Regions from separate parts of the Homo sapiens genome. Here region 1 is linked to region 2. The links are contacts of gene promoters, found by promoter capture Hi-C in blood cells and fetal thymus (Javierre and others, 2016). All regions are on one chromosome and are shown on one strand. The core of a region is centred on a gene start or on the middle of the fragment in contact, and the rest is flanking DNA. Distances in the headings are between cores, read along the strand shown. Region 1 holds the start of TRL-CAA4-1 (tRNA-Leu (anticodon CAA) 4-1). Region 2 holds the start of PGBD2 (piggyBac transposable element derived 2).

Region 1 (6,219 bases), core at 2,083-4,582, 34 kb before region 2:
ACCCAACATTGGGATACCTAAATATATAAAGCAATATTAATACAGGTAAAAGGAGACATAGGTTGCAATATAATAAGAGTAGGGGACTTAAACACCCCACTTTCAGCAATGGACAGATAATCCAGACAGAAAATCAATAAGGAAACATCAGACATAGACTAAACTCTAGACCAAATGGACCTAACACGTGTACACAGGACATTCCATCCAACAGCAGAAGAATGCATTATCTTATATGTAGAAAACCCTAAGGACTACACTAAAAAAGTCTGTTAGAACTAATAAATTAATTCAGTAAAGTTGGAGGATCAATATACACAATCAGTAGCATTTCTACACAGTAATAGTAAACTATCCGGAAAACAAATCAAGAAAACAATCTCATTTACAGTAGCTAAAAAAAGATAAAATACTTAAGAATAAATTTAACCAATGAGCTCTACACTAAAAACTATAAAACATTAATGAAAGAAATTGAAGAAGAAATCACTAAATGGAAAGATATTTCATTTTAATGGATTGGAGGTATCAATATTATTAAAATGTCCATGCTACCAGAGCAATCTACAGATTCAATGCAATCCCTATAAAAATTCCAATGACAGTTTTCACAAAATAGAAAAGACAATACTTAAATACCTTTGAGGAAGAAAAAACAATCCCAAAATTTGTACAGAATCAAAAAGAAACTACTCAATGATAAGAAAGCAAATAACCCACTTAAATAATAGGCAAAGAATCTGAATAGACATTTCTCTAGGGAAGACATACAAATGGCCAACAGATATATGCAAACGTGCTTAATATCACGAATCATCAGGGAAATGCAACTTACAACCACAATGAGATATTACCTTCTGGCCGGGCCCTGTGGCTCACGCCCATAATCCCAGCACTTTGGGAGGCCGAGGCAGGTGGATCACCTGAGGAATTCGAGACAAGCCTGTCCAACATGGTGAAACCCTGTCTCTACTAAAAACAAAAATTATGCTGGGCGTGGTGGTGCGTTCCCATAATCCCAGGTACTCGGGAGGCAGAGGCAGGAGAATCGCTTGAACCCAGGAGGTGGAGGTTGCAGTGAGCCTAGATTGCGCCACTGCACTCCAGCCTGGGTGACAAGAACGAACCTCTGTTTCCTAAAAAAAAAAAAAGATATTACCTTCCATCTGTTAGAATGGCTATTATCAAAAAGATGAAAGATAACTATCATTGGTGAGGATGAGGAGAAAAGGGAAATCTTGCACATTGTTGGTGGGAATGTAAATTAGTACAGCTATTATAGACAACAGTATGGAAGCTCCTCATAAAACTTAAACAAAATTACCATATGATCCAGCACTCGCACTACTGGGTATATATCCAAAGTAATTGAAATCATTATGTTCAAGAGATGCCTGCACTCTCACGTTTATTGCAGCATTACTCACAATGGGTAAGATATGGAAACAACCATAATACCCATCAAGGATGAATGGTTAATAAAATTATGTTATTTGTGACAACATGGGTGAATCTAGACAGCCTTCTGCTACCTGAAATATGCCAGGCATAGGAAGACAAATACTTCATGTTATCCCTTATGTTTTGAATCTAAAAAAATCGAACTCATAGAAAAAAGGAGTAGAATGGTGGTTATCAGAGGCTGGGAGAGGGGGGTGGAATGAGGAAAGAGGGTGGAATGTTGGTTAAAAGGTACATAGTTTTAGTTCAACAGGAGGAATGATTTCTTGTGACCTACTGCACAGAATGGTGACTGTGGTTAATAATAATGCATATTTCAAAATTCCTGCAGGAGTGGATTTTAAATGTTCTGACCACAAAGAAATCATAAAAGCATGGGAGGTGATGGATATGTTAATTAGCCTTATTTGATCATTTCACAATGTGTACATGAATTGAAACATCACATGGTACTCCATAAAGATATATAATTATTATTTGTCAATTAAAGATAAAATATTTTAAAAAGGAAAAAATATTAAAAACCTGGAAATAGACAAAAGAGATTACTAGGTGTCCTTCCCATGGAACTTGGCATTGTCTAGCAGACCTTTGTGGGATTATCTGTTTCCATTGGCATGTGCACCTTTATTAATTTTTATTGACTTGGCTATTTTGCAGCTTGGTAGGGAGGTAGAGGTTAACTTTTTTTTTTTTTTTTTTTTTTTTGAGACAGAGTCTCGCTCTGTCACCCAGGCTGGAGTGCAGTGGTGTGGTCTTGTCTCACTGCAAACTCTGCCTCCCGGGTTCACGCCATTCTCCTGGCTCAGCCTCCTGAGTAGCTGGGACTACAAGTGCCCGCCACCATGCCCGGCTAATTTTTTTGTATTTTCAGTAGAGACGGGGTTTCACCGTGTTAGCCAGGATGGTCTCCATCTCCTGACCTCGTGATCTGGCCGCCTCGGCCTCCCAAAGTGCTGGGATTACAGGCGTGAGCCACAGCGCCCGGCCAAGGTTAACTTTTAGAAAACTAATAGTAATGAAAATGGTTTCTGTCTGAGAGCAAGACCAAGGATAGCAATATAAGTAAAATTTGTCAAGAGACACAACCGATTTATCTCCGGCAAAGAAAAGATAACCCCGGAGTAGAAATCCCAACTTCCATTATCACAGTTTATTACTCAGGATATTAACCCAACTTTAATCTGTTAGCAACCTCTTTTCAGCCTTCATTTGGCTGAATTATTATTTTAAAAGTCTCTCGAAATTCTCCTTTTAATTAGTTGTAACATTGGTAACATTGTATAGGTCATTGACAAAGACCTTCCTTGACCAAACTTCAGTCAGGCGCCTCTGATTCCTGTTTTTGATTAGGCCTCTACCTTGGCCCCTATCCTGTCTTTGGCCTGTAAAGCCTAGTCTTAGCAAACAGTCCTGCTAAGTCAGTTTAGTGTGAATTCCCCCAGCCTTGATATTGATCAAGTTACTCATTCCTCACCTTTGAATTTCTCACCTTTGGTGTCCAAGTCTTTGGCCTCCAGTAAGTAGAATCTTTTAAGGCCTGTTTAGTATGTAACCCCTACTCCTATTAGTAATTTTTCCTGCCTCCCTTCCTTCCTTCTTTCCTTCTCCCTTACCCTTAATGTCTCCTATTAGTAATTTTCTTTCTTTGAAAGGCGAGCTTCATCATAGCTCACTGAAGCCTCAAACTCCTGGGCAGAAGCGATCCTCCTGACTAGGCCTCCCAAAGCACTGGGATTACAGGCCTGAGCTGCCCCACTTGGCCCATTTTCTTAGTAATTTTCCATCCACTGATCCCCCCCACCCCCCACACTCTGCTCCTTGGCTTTAAATTTCTAGTTGTCTTTGTTGATTTGGAGTTGCGCCCAGTCTCTCACCCCTATTGTAATAGTTTGAATAAAATTCTCCCTTGCTGTTTGAACAAGTATCAGAATAATTTTCTCTTTAAAGTTATTATCTTTCATCATTAGTTAATTGAATAAAATCTTGACACGTGGATTTTATATTTGTATGACATTCTTATTTTATTTTATTTTATTTTATTGTTTTGAGACAGAGTTTCACTCTTGTTGCCCAGGCTGGAGTGCAACGGCGCGATCTCGGCTCACCACAACCTCCGCCTCCCAGGTTCAAGCGATTCTCCTGCCTCAGGCTCCCGAGTAGCTGGGATTACAGGCATGTGCCACCATGCCCGGCTAATTTTGTATTTTTAGTAGAGACGGGGTTTCTCCATGTTGGTCAGGCTGGTCTCGAACTCCCGACCTCAGGTGATCCGCCCACCTCCCAACGTGGTGGCGGGATTACAGGCATGAGCCACCGCGCCCGGCTGCATGACATATATTTTAGTTTTTGAAAAATATTTTAGCAAAAGTCACTTTAGTGAGGCCTTACTTAACTGCACAGTCTAAAAATAGAACTTCTCCACCACTTCATTGCTTTTGGTTTTTCCTCACACTCTGTACATGTGATTGTGCTGGTCATCTCCTTCACTAGCAAATCAGCTCACCAAGTTGGGGCTTTGTCTATTTACCGTTGTGTTCCCAGTGGACACTCGATGTTAAGATTCAACGAATGAATGCCTGGACGAGTGGTATCTGGGCTCACAGGTAACCTCACAGCCCACCGGGAGGACACTGCCAGAGCTGCTCTGCACTGCGAGTCCCGGGCCTTCCCATTGGACGCTAAGGCACTCGTTAACTGCTGTGTAAACGCAGCCTGACTTCCCTCACCTCAGGCGAGGCCCGCATCAGGCCCCTCTGACCTAGGACCTCCCGATCCGGCCGTTATCGCCAACCGTATCTGTGTGGTTTCGTGGAGGAAGCGCGGTGGACCTTGAGGGGAGGGTACGCGCAGGCACAATAAAGCAGAAAGCCGCTATAATAATGATGATAATGAAGAAAAACAAAAGCATCCATTCGTCACTTAGTGGCAAGCGTTTTTCCAACTACTTTCCGAGTAGTAACTGCTTGCCAGAGTTTCCCCAGCTTGGGCCGGAAGGTGAGGCGGTAGCTCGAGCTTTGCCTTTCTCAGGCATTGTCCTGCGTTTGCGGGGCCAGGCGCTGGCACACGGTCACTAACCCCTGGTCGTTAGCTTCGATTCCCGGCCTGGGAGAGCGCTATCGGCCACTCCTGGCTGCATTGCAGTCGCGGCTTTCTCCAGAGCTCCGCCGGGAACGGGAAGCGCTGAAACGTCGCGACCAGTCAGTAGGGTTCCCACGGCCGCAACTCGGGTGTGACGCGGCAGGCTGGCACCAGCGGACACAAGTATGAGGCTAAGTGAGAAGCGCTCTGCTTCCGAGTGTCAGGATGGCCGAGTGGTCTAAGGCGCCAGACTCAAGGTAAGCACCTTGCCTGCGGGCTTTCTGGTCTCCGGATGGAGGCGTGGGTTCGAATCCCACTTCTGACACATTCGTTTTATTAGCATTTTATTCCCCGGAAGAAACCCCAGAATTTTCCCGGAGTCCGTTGGTATTTTATTGTCTTCTCCAGGAAGAAGGTTACAACTAGACTACTCATCTTTGCTGCCCGGTTTTCCCTGTCTGCCGCAGCAAGGGGGCTACCTACCAAGGGGAGGGAAGCAGTCTGCATATTCCCAAATGTTGCGAGAAAACCGCATCCAATCATGTTTCTATAGGAGATACGTCACAGGATATTTATTTAGTATAGCATATTGCTAAATGACGCATCATGTCTTCCCTGGTGGTCTAGTGGTTAGGATTCGGCGCTCTCACCGCCGCGGCCCGGGTTCGATTCCCGGTCAGGAAAGTAAGCCGTTTTAAAAACTGTTGCCGCAGGGCTAACCATAGGTGATGTTCCCAGAGTCAGCTATGACTTGACTTCTAAACAAAGGGCAAAACGCACCTGGTGTCCTCATTTTGCAGAGTAGTTACCTGAAATGGACTCTACTGCAGTTTATGCGCGCCGTATATGTAGTCAGTGTCTTTACTCATGATATCTTAAGAACGGAGAAAAAATGCCAGCAGCACAAAATGATCCAAAAAGATAGCTCTGGGTATGCCAAAAATGGCTGGTCTTAAAATTATGTCACAGATTTCAAAAAGTCTCCCTAGGTGTCCAAAGGCCATTAGAATGGCACCTGTTGCCTAGAGGGGCGGGTCAGGGCCGGTCCTAGCTCCTTAACGACGCTTGAGTAATTGTCGCTATGGAAAGAGATCAGGTACTTCTCCCTCACCCCAGCATCTATCTTTTCATTTTTTAAATAAGTAGAGATAATTGAAATAATGCCACAACCAACCCTGGTTTCTCTTTACCTGCAATCAACACTGGTTAATATTTTGTCACATTCTCTCTCTCTCTCTCTCTTCCAAGGTAGATAGATAGGTAGATAGAGATAGATAGATAGATAGATAGATAGATAGATAGATAGATAGATAGATAGATAGACAAATAGATAGAGATAGGTATACCTTCCCTATTCCACTTGAAAGTTGAGATCTGTATGGCCTGGCGCGGTGGCTGACGCCTGTAATCCCAGCACTTTGGGAGGCTGAGGTGGGCGGATCACGAGGTCAGGAGATCGAGACCATCCCGGCTGACAGGGTGAAACCCCGTCTCTACTAAAAATACAAAAATTAGCTGAGCGTGGTGGCAGGTGCCTGTAGTCCCAGCTACTCAGGAGGCTGAGGCAGGAGAATGGCGTGAACCTGGGAGGCGGAGGTTGCAGTGAGCCGAGATCGCACCACTGCACTCCAGCCTGGGCGACAGAGCGAGACTCCGTCTCAAAAAAACAAAACAAAA
Region 2 (6,177 bases), core at 1,067-3,566:
TAAGGTGTTATTTAGTCAATGCGACATGAGAATTTTTATATGTAAAGTCTCACCCCATACATACACACAAAGACATGTACAGGTGAAATAAACTAAATGAAATAAATTAATAAATATATAAGTTTAATTCCCTAAGTCCATTTTCTTCTTTTTATGTTTTTTTTTTATTTGTTAACTCCCTAAAGCAAGATAGTATCTATAAACAAACTAGGCTGCAAGGCTTTTATGAAATTTACTCATAATACACATAATTTAAATATTTTCCCCAATTTTTTCCTTAAAGCTTATTTAGCCTATTTCTCAATTAAAGAACTTCAAAATATGTATTTTCCTCAAAGGATTCTAGCTTAACGGGCTAAATTTTTTTTTTTTTCCCAATTCCTATCATGCAGTTCTTCTGCCATTCTACCCCAAATTTGACATTGTTTTCAAAGATTTGACTTTGTTTTTAAACGTAGCTTTATTCAAAGCAATGCACTGAAAATGTCTAGATGGACTCTTTGCAGCTCCATAAACACTTACACTTGGTCCCGATCTTTTTATTAACTTTAAATTACATATGCAAGTATCCAAATTGCAGTGAGAATTCTCTCTGGATCATAAAGGTATGGAAGAAACAGCCAGCAAGCACCTTATTACTCCTTGTTGAACTCACCCCCTCTTTGACCTCATTTCTTTGACTTTCTTTTGTCTCCAGCCATTCTCAAATGTGCTAGGCTTGCTTCGCCTCAGAGCATTTGCACATGCCATTCTCTCTGCTTCAAATATTTTCCCCCTTGAATTCTGCATGGGGAATTTGCTCTTCATATTCTTTGGCTTTTCCCTCAAATACAACCTTCTCACTTACCAACCTTCCCTGACCAAATTATTTAAAACTGAATTCACAACAGTCTTATTGGTCCCCTTTGCTTCCTTTATTTTCTTCCTAGCACTTTCCACTTTGACATGCCATATATTTTGTTTACTGTCTGGTTCTCCCACTGAAATGACAAGAGGGTTTTTCTCTTGTGCCTTTTCTTTTTCACTGTTCTAACATCACTGCTCAGAGGAGTGATTGTCACAGAGAAGACACTCATTTAACACTTGAATGAATGAATGAGACACAGGATCTGGGGAACAAAGCAAGTTAGAAACACCACCCTACCTTACCTAGAGTAGCACTCCCATTTTCCCATGGCTTATTGCCTGTTTTCTCAATTTGCTCATATGTGGAATGAATGACAAACTAATACGTGCCCTTCACTTCAGAATCTCACAAATGAGCATGATTTTTTTCTTCTGATCCAGGGGTTTTGGAACACACTTTACAGTGACCAAAAAACCTTTGTGAAGTGTCAGTGTGGAGAAGCAAATACAAACTCTTCACTAAGTGGCCCTCTTTTTGAATGTTAACACGGTTTGGTCCCAGGGATTTCTGTGTTCAAAGCCTTTCAGGGCAAGGCAGTTTTCTGCGGAGTACACTGTCCTATATACCTAATGGGCTACTGGGTTTCAGCTGGACAAAGTCCTTATAGAGCCGTGATTCTCAAGAAGTAGGGGGAGATACTTTTATTTGTCATAACTAGAGTGGAGAGAGTGTGGTGTGCTACTGGCATTTAGTTGCTAGGGATGCTCAATATCCTACAATTAAGGTTCTATTTTTACCAAGTAAAAATATAGGTAGGCAAGGTAGCCAGATGAAATACAGGGACTTCCAGTTAAATGTGAATCTTAGATGAACAACACTGTTACCTGAAACTCAAATTTAACTGTATTTTATCCGTGACCCTGCCTCCTATAATGCACAGGACAGCCTCCTTCCCTCTCAACAAAGAATTATCCAGGCCCAAAATGTCAAGAGTGGAGGTTGAGAAACCCTGCCATACAGCAGTGGTTCTCAAGCCCTAGTTTGTACCACAATTACCTTCAGGGTTGGTAAGGCCGATTATTGGGCACACCCTCAGAGTTTCTTACTCAGAAGGCCTGTAGTGGGGTCCCAAGATTTGCATTTCCATCGATTTCCCAGGTGAAGCTGCTGTTAGATTGGGGGCACATTTGAGAACCACTACCCTAGAAAGTCCCCATGCTCTCCTGATTAGGAAGGAGCGAGGAAGGTTTCCAAAGTAGGACAGGGGTGGGAGGGTAAGGGAGAGTGGCGGGAAGAGCTGGCCCGCTGGGGTGGGTTATTTCGGCCGTTCTGGCCTCGCAGGCGTTTTCGGGATCCCTCTAGGCGCCGCGGAGGTCCTGGAGTCTCGATGGTCGCTCGGGCCGGGGCGTGGCCTGGCCCGGGGGCGTGGCATGGAAGGCCGGCCGAGGTGCAGCGAGCCCTCTGGTGCCGGACGTTGCGCGGCCGCGACGCCCGACGCCAACGCAGGCGCAGCGCTCCGATTCGGCGCGGCTCATGGTCCGGTTCGGGCTCGCGAGTCTCCGTCTGGGGTAGGGCAGGTAGGCCTCAGTGTGCTCGCGCTGCAGGCAGGGCTTCGCTTGAGTACAGGAGTGGTTGGCGTTGATGTTGCGTTTTCTCAACGGCGGCATCCGAGGAGTTCGTCCTCACCACTGCGCGCCGACGGTGGGCTGGCGGGACCAGGACAGGAACAATGGGATTCCGAGGGCCGCAAGGGGGCGCTCCTTCTGCGGGTTGGGGTGCGAGGCCGGAGGCCGGGCCGGCTGAGCGGGAGGCGGAGCGGGGTGGGTGGGGACCAGGGCGGGGTCGGGCTAAAGAGGGATGGATTCAGGGCGGGGTGGGAGGGACCAGGGCAGGCTCGGGCGGGGTGGGCGGGACGAAGGAGGCGGGCGGCCTGAGGCTGGCGGCGGGACTGCGAATGCCACGTCACATCCTGGGGCGGGGTGGCTCTGTGCCGGGGCGCGCTGGGGGCGGGTCGTTTTTAACTGCGTCTGCCTGGGAAGCTGCTGAGGTTTCTGAGGGTCTTTGTTTGCCCTTCTTTCTCTTTTGCTAGTGAGGTGAAGAGAAGGGAGGGTTCTTCCGTATCCCACAAAAGCCATTCTGAGCTGTTGGGTGAAGGGGTGGCCTGCCCTTCCACACCTGTGGGATATCTTGTCAGGTGGGAGGAGAGACTGAGAAAAGAAATAAGACACAGAGACAAAGTATAGAGAAACCACAGTGGGCCCAGGGGACCGGCACTCAGCATACCAAGGACTTGCACCAGCACCGGTCTCTGAGTTCCCTCAGTTTTTATTGATTATTGTTTTCATTATCTCAGCAAGAGGAATGCGGTAGGAGAGCAGGGTGATAAGGAGGTCAGCAAAGAAACATGTGAGCAAAAGAATTTATGTCATAAGTTCAAGTGGAGGTACTATGCCTGGATGTGCACGTAGGCCACATTTATGTTTCTCTCTGCCCAAACATTTCAGTGGAATAAAGAATAACAGGGCAGCATTGCTGCCAACATGTCTTGCCTCCTGCCATAGGGCAGTTTTTCTCCTATCTCAGAATTGAACAAATGTACAATCAGGTTTTGTACGGAGACATTCAGTTCCCAGGGGCAGGCAGGACACAGTGGCCTTCATCTATCTCAACTGCAAGAGGCTTTCCTCTTTTACTAATCCACCTCAGCACAGACGGGTGTCGGGCTGGGGGACGGTAAGGTCTTTCTCTTCCCACGAGGCTGTATTTCAGACTATCACATGGGGAGAAACCTTGGACAATACCCGGCTTTCCAGGGCAGAGGTCCCTGTGGCTTTTCATGGTGCATTGCGCCCCTTGTTTATTGAGACTAGAGAATGGTGATGACTTTTACCAAGCATACTGCTTGTAAACATTTTGTTAACAAGACATGTCCTGCACAGCCCTAGACCCCTTAAACCTTGATTCCATACAACACATGTTTTTGTGAGGTCAAGGTTGGAGCAAAGAGGTTGGGGCAAAGTTACAGATTAAGAGCATCTCAGGGCAAAGCAATTGTTCAAGGTACAGGTCAAAATGGAATTTCTTATGTCTTCCCTTTCTACATAGACACAGTAGCAGTCTGACTTCTCTTTCTTTTCCCTACAGTTAGGCACCTGGCTCAGCTTTGGGGCATTTACATCTATAAAATGTCTTTTGAATAATTTTTATCTTGAATTAATTTCAGAGTTTCAGAGTGTTGTGAAACAAGCAAAAATTCCCATGTACGGTTCGTCTGGATTTCCTAGGGGTTAACATCTTATTTTACAAAACAGTCAACAAAACCAGGATATTAACACCTACAGGCCTTATTCGAATTTCTTTACTCTCACCTATTTCCATTTTGTAATTTAGGTTCCAAGACAGCATTTAGTTGTCCTGTCTTTCCTTGGAGAAATTTACATTTTAAACAGCAGCTCTCCCACCTCCCAATCCCCTAGGACCCTTTAGAGTGGCCTGGGGAGCTCCAGGTCTCACACCAAGTTGCTTTTTCTTTGTTGAGTGCCTGGGCCAGTTCAGTTGAGAATGCCCAGTTGGACCTCTGGGCAGCTCGTGACCACCCTCTGCTCTTCCTCCCAGTGCTGCTAGGCTTAGTGAATGGCACCTCTGTGCACCAGCCATAGGGTGCCTGAAATCTAGGAGGCTTCCCCGATCAGCTTTCTCCCCTGCCCTACCCCCTCAACCAATTATCCAGGCTTGATGGTTTTACATTTTAAGTCCTCCTTAAGTGTGTCCATTTCTCTCCATAGGCCCCACCCTTTTGCCGTAGCCTTTTTGTCCATCTCCCTGCATCTATGTTGGGGCCTGCATACTCAGTTGTCCATACTGCACCCAGAATAAGCTTGTTAACATACACCCTTCCTTCTGTTATGCTCTTCCTGTATTTTTTTTTTTTTTAAACTTCCCATAGCTCTTATAAAGACAGGCCTCCTTAACAGGGTCTTCAAGTCTCTGCAGGGCTGGTACAGCCTCTTGTACCCTGTCCCGCAGATTCCTTACTCTGGCGTCACTGCTTTGCTTCTCCTGTGCTGTGCCTTTTGCCTGGGGTGCTATTCCCTGCCTGCTGAGGGAATTGTTACTCTTTCTGCAGCTCTCCATCATTTTGTCTTTTCCTCAGGGAGATATTCTCTGACCTCCCTGACTAGATCAGTTTCCGTTTTACGGGTTTTGATAAACACCTCCTTTCCTTCTTAGCCCTGTCATAGTTACAATTTTATGCATATATACCTGGCACCCAGTAGATACTTCAGATGTTTGCCAAACGAATGAAAAAGTGATAGTGTGGCTGCCTAACAGCCTCTATCTAGACATTATTCCCTTTGTGAGTTTGCTTGGTATGTAGGAGCACTGGTTACCCATGTCCTCTTCCTCTGTTGGTTGTCTCAGGCAGGGCAAGAAAGATGGAGGAGCCACATGTGAGGGGATGGAGGGCCTGGGGAGCACAGTCTACAGACTCCTGAAAGGTAGAATGGGTTTTTGCTGAGCTTCTTGCGTATGTATCCCCCTCTGACCTGGTTGAGTCCACTGTATTAGATTCTTCACTGACAGGTATTTCCTATGCGTGGTTTCAGAGACTCTTTTAGGAGTATATTTTAGTTAGGGTCAAGCATATATCAAGAGCTTCTGGTTCTTTTCTAAATAGTTGTCTCAAAGCCAAATAGTAAAGATGAAAATGAAAGTCTGCAGCAGGTTGAGATGGACGGGGTGCCCTGGAGTGTGGCCATTTGGCTCTGTGGCATGATTAATTTGGTTCAGCGAGTATTTATTGAGGGCCTGCTGCATGCCAGATGCCATGTTGCCTTTTGGGGATACAGAGGTGGGGTCGACCTGAAGATGGATTATTAATTTCAGTCTATTGTGGTGAAAGCTGTGGTAAGAGGAAGACTTGATTGGAAGCTTGATGGATGAGAAAGACATTGCAGGGGATCCCATAGGCAGGGAATGGCACCCCAGGCAAAAGGCACAGCACACAAGAAGAAAGCAAAGCAGTCAGGCCAGAGTAGGGAACCTGAGGGAGACAGGATACAAGAAACTGGACCAGCCCTCAGGAGTGGTCTGAACCTAGAGGCAGAACTGGGTCGGGATGAGGCTGGGGACCAGGCTGTGAATGGCTTTGATTTTATTTCAGAGCTTGGTTGGCAAGTTCTTGGTAGGCTGTGAAGATGGGCTCATGCCCTAATGGCTGGAGGCTGTCAGTCTGTATGTTAGCAAGTGGATGGGGCCAGCCTAAGGCACAGTGGAGGAAAAGGTGGTAAACTGCTGAGAGGTGAAGCAACTGTGACATGGTAACACAA

What was found. The method cuts DNA at HindIII sites, captures the fragments that hold promoters and counts their contacts. A CHiCAGO score of 5 or more calls a contact.
Region 1: a fragment that was not itself captured here is called in contact with the fragment with the promoter of PGBD2 in region 2 in 3 of 17 cell types (naive CD8 T cells, total CD8 T cells and non-activated CD4 T cells); the score reaches 7.4 in naive CD8 T cells.

What each region holds. Positions count from the first base shown.
Region 1 is chr1:248,869,094-248,875,312 of GRCh38, forward strand. TRL-CAA4-1 (tRNA-Leu (anticodon CAA) 4-1) reads left to right here and starts at 4,762; the gene lies at 4,762-4,867. It overlaps TRE-CTC2-1 (tRNA-Glu (anticodon CTC) 2-1), which reads left to right and starts at 5,155; the gene lies at 5,155-5,226. It also overlaps a transcript of PGBD2 not described here. RefSeq lists enhancers at 3,145-3,986, 3,987-4,828, 4,423-4,532 and silencers at 4,783-4,832, 5,103-5,252. The HindIII fragment of the contact is 9,859 bases long and covers 1-6,219 here.
Region 2 is chr1:248,903,919-248,910,095 of GRCh38, forward strand. PGBD2 (piggyBac transposable element derived 2) reads left to right here and starts at 2,317. Exons shown (of 3, transcript NM_170725.3): 1 at 2,317-2,424. RefSeq lists enhancers at 1,947-2,868, 2,393-2,582 and silencers at 2,203-2,262, 2,673-2,762. The HindIII fragment of the contact is 4,441 bases long and covers 282-4,722 here.